Regions from separate parts of the Homo sapiens genome. Here all the other regions are linked to region 2. Evidence: promoter capture Hi-C in 16 types of primary human blood cells and fetal thymus (Javierre and others, 2016). All regions are on one chromosome and are shown on one strand. Each heading gives the region's core, a stretch centred on a gene start or on the middle of the fragment in contact. The rest is flanking DNA. Distances are from core to core; before and after follow the strand shown.

Region 1 (2,700 bases), core at 173-2,672, 1.3 Mb before region 2:
AGCGCCCCAGGGCAGGGGGCAACGCGGGTCAGGGAGGCTCGGGCTGCGCGAGAGCCCACTGCGGGAAGGTGGGGCGCTCGAGCGTGGCGGGCTGCAGGTCCCGATCCCTGCCCCACGGGGAGGCGGCTGAGGTCCAGCGAGAATTCGACCAAGGCGTGGGCGGGCCCACACTGCTGGGGGACCTGGCGCGCCCTCCACAGCTGCTGGCCCGGGTGCTAAGCCCCTCACTGCCCGGGAGTGCGCGGCCCGCGGAGCCCGCGCTCACCTGGAACTTGCGCTGGCAAGCACCGCCCTCAGTCCCGGTTCCCGCCGGCGCCTCTCCCTTCACACCTCCCCGCAAGCAGAGGGAGCTGACTCCGGCCTCAGCCAGCACAGAGAAGGGCTCCCACAGTGCAGCGGCGGGCCGAAGGGCTCCTCAAGCGCGGCCAGAGTGGGCACCGAGGCCCAGGAGGCGCTGAGAGTGAGCGAGGGCTGCTAGGCTGCTGTCACCTCTCACTGCCACCACATCAGTGGGCCCTTCTTACTTAAAAGGTGTCCGACAGCTAACCTGAGGACTGACTATTCTGTTAACAGATCTGCCTTAGATGCCTAAGGCATCCCTGCCTTTGAAGAGCTGAGGTTCGCTCCATCCTAAGCCCGCCAAGGCCTCTTCCAGCTTCTGTGTTTCCACGCACAGGCACCTGACGCACTTGGGCCATGACAGGTGAGGTGCTGTTTTAAAGAAGCCTCCTAATTCTTGAAAAGCACTGATGGAAAGACATAGCCTCTTTGTGGATTGTGCTATGTTTGATGGGAGTGCATACCTGAGGCCACAGTTTTGACACCAGGAAAGGAGGGAACCTGAGGTACAGCAGTCACAGGAGGCATGCAGGACCTGCCAGGAGCATTGCAGAGAAGTGGAGCCGGAGCCTGACGCCCTGGGACTTCCCTCCACTCTATTCCTTGCCATGGGCATGGCCAATGGTCTTCTAGTGTGGGCAGGGAAAGTATCCGCACTGATCATCTGAAGGATGCAAAATCAGCACAATCACAAAAAGGCTTCATGGAAGGACTCATCATTCAGCAAATGATTTATCACTAGCTAGGCGCCAGGACTCTGTTTATCTCTTTATCTAGATCAACAGTACTCCCAAGGCCAAAAGCCATAAAGGAGAAGATGCATGGACATAACCAGAGTATTTCAAAATGCCTTCAAGACAAAATTATTTTCAAAACATAGGCAAATGCAAAAGTCAAGTGAAAACTGGAGAAACTGTGTTTACAAGGAATCTAACGAAAACCCAATTTCCTTATGACATAAAAAAAGTATCAAATCAATAGCAAAAAGTAAAACAAAAACCTAATAAAAATAAAGCAAATGACATGATAGGACACAATCCTAAATAGATAAATACATAAATAGATGACTTTAAATAAGTTCTTAGCAATTTCAACCTCACATTTTAAAATTCACGAACTAGTTATTATAAGAGATCCTTTTTCACATATCCAAGTAAAAATTGTTTTACCAGCTTGACCATACACAATGTTTGCAGTGTTGGAGGGAAAGGTACCCTTACACACTGTTAGAGGTAAACAGGCGCCGCCTCTTTGGAATTTGGAATTTGTCAAATACGTAAGCATTTTAAATGCATGTAACCAATGACCCAGCTATCATCCTTTCTAAAATTGGTTTCACAGATAAACTCATTCCTTTTAAATAACTGATTTAATAAGTGACCTTAGGGCACAGATTATTTGACAAGAATATTTATTGTCTACTTGAATTCAGAGATTTTGGCACTGTGCAAGGCACACATGGGGAGTCTATAGATATGTGAATAAATAGCATCCCACCAGACAGCTAAGGACAGAATCATTGCCTGGAATTCTTTCCTCCGGGTATTGTCAATGCGATGTAAGAATATAAAACAAATAATGAGAGAATTCTAAAGCGAGAGGAAATAGAAAACGCTAACCCAAGGGGTTTGGCCGCTTTACCTCATCCTGACTCTAGATGGCAGCATCCGCTCACTTCCCCCAGCTGGGAGACTAGCTCCAGAAGCAGCCTGAATCCGAGCGAAATTGGAAGTTTTCCATGTAGGAGAATCAGCCGGGCACGGGCATCTGCTCAAGCCCCACTTGCAGTTAGGAGGATTCTCCCCACTTGAACGAACTCACAGAAGCAGATATCTGACCCCACTTTGGTCCGTTTACTCCATACATACAAGCCAAGGCATTTGTTTCTTTTTTTTTTCTTTTTTTTTTTTTTTTTTTTGTGGTGGAGGGGCGCTGTGATTTGTTTGGTTATGAGCCAGAAAAATGCCAGATATGTCCTGAGTGCTTCCCAAGCTCAATCACAGATAGGCACTTCCTTGACCTAACTGAGCTTCAAAAACGCATCAGCAAAAACACCCACGTAAGATGTCCGATGGGAGGCACCTCGGGACATATCCTAGGCAACAGCAGGGAGGCCCGCTTCCTCCTGCCGGCCGCGAGCAGCGCAGCACCTCTAGGGCCCGCGGAGAGAGCGAGGTCTCCCTGCCATGCGTGGGGTGGAGGCGGTGCTGTGCAGGACTCCCCTGCGGTCCACCTAGACTCTCAGCTTTAAAACTCCATTCCCAGGCTAAAAGGAAAAGAAAGCACTGGGAGGAGAAAACGGACAAGAAGTTCAAAACTCAGGTTATGGAAAAAGAGATAAATGAATCCTCACAGAAGCAA
Region 2 (2,779 bases), core at 203-2,702:
CCCATATTTGGCTCTCTGCAAAGAGAAACAAAAATAATTCATCGTGCCAAAATTTGAAATTTGGGAGCTGCAGCTCATCTGATTACAAATGAGTACCTTTGTGCTTAAATTGCCACCACAAAGTGCAGACTATGACCAACATGCCAGGGAACAGAGCAGGACAGATCCACCCTGGGACTGGGGCTCAGCTGCCCCTTCTCTGTGGCCCCCTGACCCCCTAAACCGCAGACTGGTTTTCATTGCACACGTAGACTGTGCTTGGCTGGATTCTCCTTCGGATCCGCTCAGGCACTTTGGGGAGGATTTGGAAGGTCTGGGGCAGCAACTCTATGCAGGCCTCGCGGAATTTTTTGATTCTCCAGCAGTAGACGATGGGGTTGAAGACGGACTTGAGGTAACTGAGCCACAGGACGCAGGTGCTGGTGGCGTAGAAGGAGGAACCGCAGTAAAAGCGCTGGCTAAACACAGACAGGAGGCTGTAGACGGAGTGGGGCAGCCAGCAGAGGGAGAAGCCCACGAAGAGGATCAGGATGGTGGTGAAGGCCTTGGTCTTGAAGCTCAAGTCCACGCTGACCTGTTGCTGCCGCTGCAGGCGCCGCAGGCCCGCCCTGGTGAGCTGCCGCAGGTCCAGGCTGTCCGACTGGTTGTGCACGCGCACGGCGTTCTTGCGGACCGTGTTGAGGATGCACATGTAGGCGCACAGCATGACGCCAAAGGGCGCGAAGAACACGGCCACCACCAAGGTGACCACGTAGGCGCGGTCAGCGGGGAGCTCCGTGTAGCCCAGCACGCACTGTGGGGCCCGCGCCGGCACCTCCACCAGCGTCCAGCCCGTGAGCGAGGGCCCCGCGATGCAGAAGGACAGCACCCAGGAGACCGCGATGATCACCTTGGCCCTGCGCGGGTTCAGCTTGTCCTGGCGCTGGACGATGATGAGGAAGCGGTCCACGCTGATGATGAGCAGGATGGCCACGCCCTCCAGGACAAAAAACCAGTAGAGCGTGGCTGAGAGGCGGCAGAAGTGGTCCCCAAAGTGCCAGCGCACGGTGATGAGGGTGACGGCGGTGAAGGGCATGCAGCAGAGGGACAGCATGATGTCGGAGAAGGCCAGGGTGGCCAGCAGCAGGTTGATGGCCGAGCGCATAGCCGGCCTCTGGTACACGATGATGCAGACCACAGTGTTGCCCAGGAACCCCACCACGGTCATCAGCAGCATCACTATGGCCAAGGAGATCCTGAGGGGTGCGGGCAACTGGGTGGACCCCGAGTCTGAGGCGTTGCTGGTGTTCAGCAGCAGGTATGTGTAAGCCTCAAGGGACGTGCTGTTGCAGGCCATCGTGGAGAGACCCTTGGAGCTGGGACAGAAATGGCCGGGAGGGCTCCCCTCAGCACTTGGGTGGCTGCCATTCTTTGTCTGCTGGCTGCATCTTCCTGGATGTCTGTGGACCTCTGGGGCACTGGAATGGTCTTGGGGAGAAATGTCCGTCTTTGTGAGCACTAGCTGGGATTTGCGATTCATGGATCACATCCTAAGCATCTCTGTGGAGAGCGACTCTGTGCACAGCTTCGTGCTTGGACCCTCTGTAGTGGACAGCAAGCAAAAGTACAAAAGAGAAGGGGGTTAGAGTTTCCAAACGCGTTGAAGAAAGCACGCGTTTAAGCTTTACAGGTGTTTCTAAACAAGTTTATTTACCACGTGGGACAAAGCTTGATATTCACAAATACTGTCTGAGTCTTGTCAAGCAGCCCAGAAAAACCTAATCAGCTATCTTCTGAGGAAACTGAGGAAGTACACTTTGTAGTTAGTGTTTATGTAATAACTTGAGTTTTCAGCAACCTGTCGGAATGAAGCCTTGGTCTAGCCAACTAACGTTAGAATCCTGCTCCACAAGAGAAAGGTTTTGCTTGTTTCATTCTCTGCTATCTCCCAGTACTGACAACAGTGGCTGGCATGCAGTAAGTGTCCTTGTTGAGGACACTTGGATGCTTGTTGAGTAGATGAATAAGTGATAGTTGATGCTGCTGCTATAATATTTGTTTAGCTTTAAAAAACCCCACTTCATCGAGGAATGACTGACATGTCAAAAGCTGTACAAATTTACATCTCAATATACCAGAAACCCATCACCACCAAGGCCAAAAACATATCCCACTCCCCCTGCCAAAGCTCTCTCCTGCCATTTTTCTAGTATTATCATTTTGTTTTGGTGGTAAGAATACTTCACCTAAGATCTGCCCTCTTAGCAAATTTTAAGTATACATTTTTAAGTTTTAATTTTTTAAAAGAAATTGTAAGTCTGTTTGTTTAACTTTATTTGATAAGTGTAAATTCACATGGATAAGTGTAAATTCACATGGAGTTATAATAATAAATACTATGGTGAAATTCTGTGTGTCCTTCACCCAGTTTTCCCTAATGGTAACATCTTGGATAACTGTGGGGCTGCTATACTATTACTTCTGGAAGCACAGACTGGGAGAAGGGAACTTTCCCCAAAGGTAAGGCCTTTTAAAATACAATGTTAGCTGGGTGCAGTGGCTCATGCCTATAATCCCAGCACTTTGAGAGGCAGAGACAGGAGGATTGCTTGAGGCCAGGAGTTCAAGACCTGCCTGGGCAACATAGAGAGATCCCATCTCTACACACACAAAAAAATGAGCCAGGCTTCCATCTATAGTCCCTGCTACTCAGGAGGCCGAGGCAGGAGGATTGCTCAAGCACAGAAGTTCGAGGCTGTCGTGAGCTAAGAAGGTGTCACTGTACTCCAGCCTGGGTAAC
Region 3 (2,700 bases), core at 10-2,509, 1.3 Mb before region 2:
TGATGATATTATGTGGGGGTGATGGGAGACAATGACAGATCATCAGGCATTAGATTCTCATAAGGAGCGCGCAACCTAGATCCCTCCTGCTTGCAGTTCACAATAGGGTTTGTGCCCCTGTGAGAATCTGATGCCACTGCTGATCTGGCAGGAGGCAGAGTTCAGGTGATAATGTGAGCCATGGGAGCAGCTATAAATACAGATGAAGCTTTCCTTGCTCACCTGACACTCAACTACTGCTGTGTGGCCTGGTTCCTAACAGGGCACAGACCACCACAATTGGGACCACAGACCATCCTAACATCCTAACAGGGCACAGACCACCACAATTGGGACCACAGACCATCTACTCTGCTCCCAATTGACCAGCCATGGCAGCAAATAAAAAGGAGCGGGCACTGCCTTGCAGCCCATCCCGAATGCTTGCATAGTTTATCTGAGTGTGAAATAACTAGGCCAGGCGGGTGGGGACAACCATCAGCATAAACACAAGATGGAAAGCTTCCATCAGCAGCAGGGATGCTTTTGTTTTCATGAAAATGACACTCTCTTGTTAAAAGCTGAATTAAAGAATAGTCGGTGAACCCCTTCTCAGTGACAAATTAACCTTCTCAGAACACCAAGTTTTTACATAGGGGGTCCTGGAAAAGGGGAGAATACTCAATGCTCTCTCGTTACCTTCATCATTGGGAAGTGAAAAGAACATGGTTTGAGCTAAGGATGGGATTCTCAGGAGGCAACACGATTTATAAAATAAACTAACTTGTTTATTTAACTTTAGAAAAGAGAAAATTGTCCGGGCTCAGTGGCTCACGCCTGTAATCCCAGCACTTTGGGAGGCCGAGGAAGGTGGATCACAAGGTCAGGATATCGAGACCATCCTGGCTAACACGGTGAAACCCTGTCTCTACTAAAAATACAAAAAAATTAGCCAGGCGTGGTGGTGGGCCCCTGTAGTCCCAGCTACTCGGGTGGCTGAGGCAGGAGAATGGCGTGAACCTGGGAGGCGGAGCTTGCAGTGAGCTGAGATCGCGCCCTTGCACTCCAGCCTGGGTGACAGAGCAAGACTCCACCTAAAAAAGAAAAAAAAAAAAAGAAAAAGAAAAAAGAAAATTAAGAGATCTTATCAAAAATCACAGATTTCACCTTCACCCCACCCCATTCCAAAATCCATCTCTTTGATATCTTTTTAAAGGCCTTGGACTTAACATCAGCTTCTCTTCTATCCTGCCAACTTCACCCCCTCCTCCCTGGCATTTAGGACTTTTCCAGTTTGCTCCCTCTTCTCCCTCTTGAGTTCTCTGGGGAAAATATTATCTCCTTTGATTCAACAATTCTACTTCCAGGAATCAATGCTTATAAAACATAAAGAGATGAGGCTGAAGATATATATACATGGAAGTGCATCAGTGACCTTTTAATAATACGGAAAAACTTCTAAGTTCCACACACTGTGCTAAGGGCTTTTCATGCCTTTTCATTATCTCATTTAATCTTCACAAAAATGTGTGGTGAGTATTATTATTCCCATTTTTATAGGAATAAAGAAACAGATACAAAGAAGTCAAAAAACTTATTCAATATTATATCCAGATTTGTCTAACTTCTAATCCCATGGTTTGAGCTAAGGATGAGATTCTCAGGATGCAACATGAATCATACAAAATAAACCATGCATTATCTCATGTAGAGCTCCTACACTATACTACAACATTTATAAATGTTATAATACTACACATTTTATAAACTATGATACCACATTTGTTAATCTTGTAAGTGTTGGTGTGTGTGTGTGTGTGTGTGTTCGTGTAGAGATGATAGAGCTACAGATAGAGTTAGAGATATGGATACAGATACACACATAGGGACAAGAGTTAAAGGATATACACCAAAATGTTTATATTGGTTATTTAATAGGGATGGAAAACTTTATATTTTTAAAAATTTTATTTTTCTGTGTTTTTCAAATGTTCCTTATTACATTCAATTTAATTCAGCAAAAATTTTTTAAGCTTTAATTATATGCCTATCACATAGTAACATATAAACAAGTATTACTCTTTAATGCAATAGAATTGTATTTCTATTTTACATCTAATTGTATGGTGGAAACACAGAAAACAATACAAGCTAGCAAAAATGAATGGATTCTCTCTTATGCAATTGGTAGCATTCGTTTACAATGCTCATCTTAATGTCTTATTCATAAGTTATGATATGATATAAATGGCTAATAATAGCAAAAGCAAGTAAATAAAATTCTACTTCTGTGTTGTCTGTTGGGAAAAAAAATTACTCTTAAAGCAGTCTTTCTGAAAAATTTCCCTAAGTCTGTGTTTCCAAATTCAGTGTCAGCAAAGGTATTTAACTCTTAGAGTGGGCAAAAAGGAGCTCATCCAGAAATAAAATTTTGATCATCCCAAATGGAGGGAGACAGAAGAGAAAAAGAATGCGAGTTAATGGATGAAGGGCAAAGCACTGCGTCTGAAATATGAGAGGTGTGGGAACACAGCATGTGGAAGCCATATCTCCATTTGTGTGTCCATCGTGTGGCACCGAGCTCTCAGGGCATCTGCATGCCTGTTCTCCAAATGAGTTCCTTCAGACCTAAGGGGAAGAAGTCCCATCTCATCAAACACACATTCACTGCTCATTATCTGCAGCAGATTACGATAGTGACCCAGATTCCAAAAACGTACT
Region 4 (2,700 bases), core at 108-2,607, 1.4 Mb before region 2:
CTTATGTGTGCATCCTCTGGGGCTTTTTAAAGTGATGATTAAAAAGGTTCCATTTGGAGGCTGGCAGCATGCAGAGCTCCATGAACTCATATCCACTGATAAAAGCATAACTAGTAGAAACTATTAAAAAAAAAAAAAAACCAAAGCATCTAAAACCTTGGAAATTGTCCTAAGGAACAATTTAGCTAAAGAAGAATTACCCAAGAATAATTTATTCAAATCTACTAAACTCAAGTAAAATAGTGAAGATCTATAGCTCTTAAGCCACAAACTGCTCTCTCTCTCCTGCTACACAGCTTGACAGGAGCTCTGCTCCACATGAGTGTAACAAAGAAGAGGGCCCTTTACTCCTGATTTTCCAGAAAACTGCTATGTGTCTTCCCAGGATGGGCAGGCTGCCACTATTTCTCTTATCCTCCAACTCAACCTGCAGAGACTAATTTCTGGTGAGTGTGGCCAAGAAGTCAAAACTTATACTCTAAAAAAACTACAAAACATTGTTTTAAAAATTATAGAAAATCAAAATAAATGGGAAATAAACATAAATGAATCAGGAGATTTGGCATTAGTATGGTGATACAGTTTGGATGTTTGTCCCCTCCAAATCTCATGCTGAAATGTAATCTCTAATGTTGGAGGTGGAGCCTGGTGGAAGGTGTTTGGGTCATACAGTGGATCTCTCATGAATGGCTTGGTGCTGTCCTTGTGATAATGAGATTTTGCTCTAAGTTCTTGCAAGATCGGATGGATTAAAAATGTGTGGCACCTCAACCCTCTCTCTCCCTTGCTCCCACTCTCACCATGTGATGTGCCTGCCTTACCATGATTATAAGCTTCCTAAGACCCCCATCAGAAGCCAATCAGATGGTGGTGTCATGCTTGTACAGTCTGCACAACTGTGATCCAACTGAATCTCTTTTCTTTATAAATTACCCAGTCTCGGGTATTCCTTTATAGTAATGAAAAAATGGACTAACACTGAAAATTACTGCCAAGGGGTGGGGTGTTGCTGTCAAGATACCTGAAAATATGGAAGCAGCTTTGCAACTGGGTAACAGGCAGAGGCTGGAAGAGTTGGGAGGACTCAGAAGAAGATGGCAAGATGAGGGAATATTTGGAACTTCTTAAAGATTGGTTAAACGGTTGTGACCAAAATGCTGACAGAGATATGAACAGTGAAGGCTGTGCTGATGAATTCTCAGATGGAAATGCAGAAGTTATTAGAAATTACAGTAAAGGTCGCCCCTGTTACATCCCTGCAAAGAACTTGGCTGCATTTATGTCCATGTCCCAGAGATCTATGGAAGTTTGAACTTAAGAGTGATGGCTTAGGGTATCTAATGGAATAAATTTATAAAGAGCAAAGCATTCAAGATGTGGCTGGACTGTTTCTAACAACCTATGATCAGATACAGAAGCAAAGAAATGACTTAAAGTTGGAAGCAGAGCATAAAAGTTCAGCCTAGCCATGTGGCACAGAAAGTAAAACCATTTTCAGAAAAGGAATGTAAGTAGGCTATGTAGCAACCATTTGCTAAGGAGATTCGCATGACTAAAAGAGAGTCAAGTGCTAATATCCGAAACAATGGGAAAAAGGCTGTGGAAACATTTCAGAGATCTTAGAGACAACACATTACATCACACGCCCAGAGGCCTAGGAGGAAAGAATGGTTTCAGGGGTCAGGTCTGGGGCCTTGTTGCCCTGCTCACCCTCAGGACACTGTTTCCTGAATCCCAGCGGCTCTAGCTACAGCTGAGGCTCAAAGGGCCTCCAGTACAGCTTGTGTCTCTGTTCTGAAGGGCACAAGTCATAAGCCTTGGTGGCTTCCACATGGTGTTAAGCCTATAGTTGCACAGAATATAAGCATGAAAGAAGCTTGGCAGCTTCCCCCTAGATTTCAGAGGAGGTATGGGAAATCCTGGGTGCCCAGGCAAAAGCCAGCCATAGGGGAAGCTCCCACAGAGAGCCTCTAGTAAGGCAGTGATGAGGGGAAATGTGGGGTTGGAGTCCCCACACAGAGTCCCCACTGGGGCACTGCCTAGTGTAGCTGTGAGAAGAGGGCCACTATCTTCCAAACCCCAGAATAGAGATCCACCAACAGCTTGCACCTGGAAAAGCCAAGGCACTCAACACCAGCCGGTGAGAACAACCACAGGGGCTGACCCTGCAAAGCCTCAGGGGCAGGGCTGCCCAAGGCCTTGGGAGCCCACTTCTGACACTACTGTGCTCTGGATGTGGGATGTGAAGTCAAAGGAGATTATTTTGTAGCTTTAAGATTTAATAAATGCCCTGCTGGGTTTCCAACTTGCATGGGACTTATAGCCCCTTTCTTTAGGTGAATTTCTCCCTTTTGGAACAGGAATGTTTACCCAATGCTGGTACCTGCACTGTCTCTTGGAAGAACATAACTTGTTTCAGTTTTATAGGCTCTTAGTGGGGGAAAAAAAAAAAAATCTCCAGATGAGACTTGGGAATTAGGACTTTCAAATTAAAACTGAAACGAATTAAGACTTTGGGGAACTATTGAGAATGGATGATTATATTTTGCATTGTGAGAAGAACACGAGATTTGGCAGGAGCAGGGTGGAATGATATACTTTGGATGTTTGTCCCCTCCAAATCTCATATTTAAACGTAATCTCCAGTGTTGGAGGTGGGGCCTGGTGGGAGGTGCTTGGGTCACAGGAGTGGATCCCTCA

Evidence for each region. Contacts are between HindIII fragments. The CHiCAGO score rates a contact against its expected background, and 5 or more counts as called.
Region 1: a contact is called between a fragment that was not itself captured here and the fragment with the promoter of GPR45 in region 2, in 1 of 17 cell types (non-activated CD4 T cells). The highest score is 5.0, in non-activated CD4 T cells.
Region 3: a contact is called between a fragment that was not itself captured here and the fragment with the promoter of GPR45 in region 2, in 4 of 17 cell types (naive CD8 T cells, non-activated CD4 T cells, total CD4 T cells and 1 more). The highest score is 10.0, in naive CD8 T cells.
Region 4: a fragment that was not itself captured here is called in contact with the fragment with the promoter of GPR45 in region 2 in 6 of 17 cell types (total CD8 T cells, non-activated CD4 T cells, total CD4 T cells and 3 more); the score reaches 7.8 in total CD8 T cells.

What each region holds. Positions count from the first base shown.
Region 1 is chr2:106,582,041-106,584,740 of GRCh38, reverse strand. No RefSeq gene overlaps it. Among named protein-coding and RNA genes, the nearest start is that of CD8B2, 96 kb to the right of the region's middle. The HindIII fragment of the contact is 4,102 bases long and covers 1-2,700 here.
Region 2 is chr2:105,240,416-105,243,194 of GRCh38, reverse strand. It overlaps GPR45 (G protein-coupled receptor 45), which reads right to left and starts at 1,452. Exons shown (of 1, transcript NM_007227.3): 1 at 1-1,452. The coding sequence starts at 1,336. The coding sequence ends at 218. The HindIII fragment of the contact is 10,787 bases long and covers 1-1,663 here.
Region 3 is chr2:106,555,678-106,558,377 of GRCh38, reverse strand. No RefSeq gene overlaps it. Among named protein-coding and RNA genes, the nearest start is that of CD8B2, 70 kb to the right of the region's middle. The HindIII fragment of the contact is 1,511 bases long and covers 504-2,014 here.
Region 4 is chr2:106,601,184-106,603,883 of GRCh38, reverse strand. No RefSeq gene overlaps it. Among named protein-coding and RNA genes, the nearest start is that of CD8B2, 120 kb to the right of the region's middle. The HindIII fragment of the contact is 1,043 bases long and covers 836-1,878 here.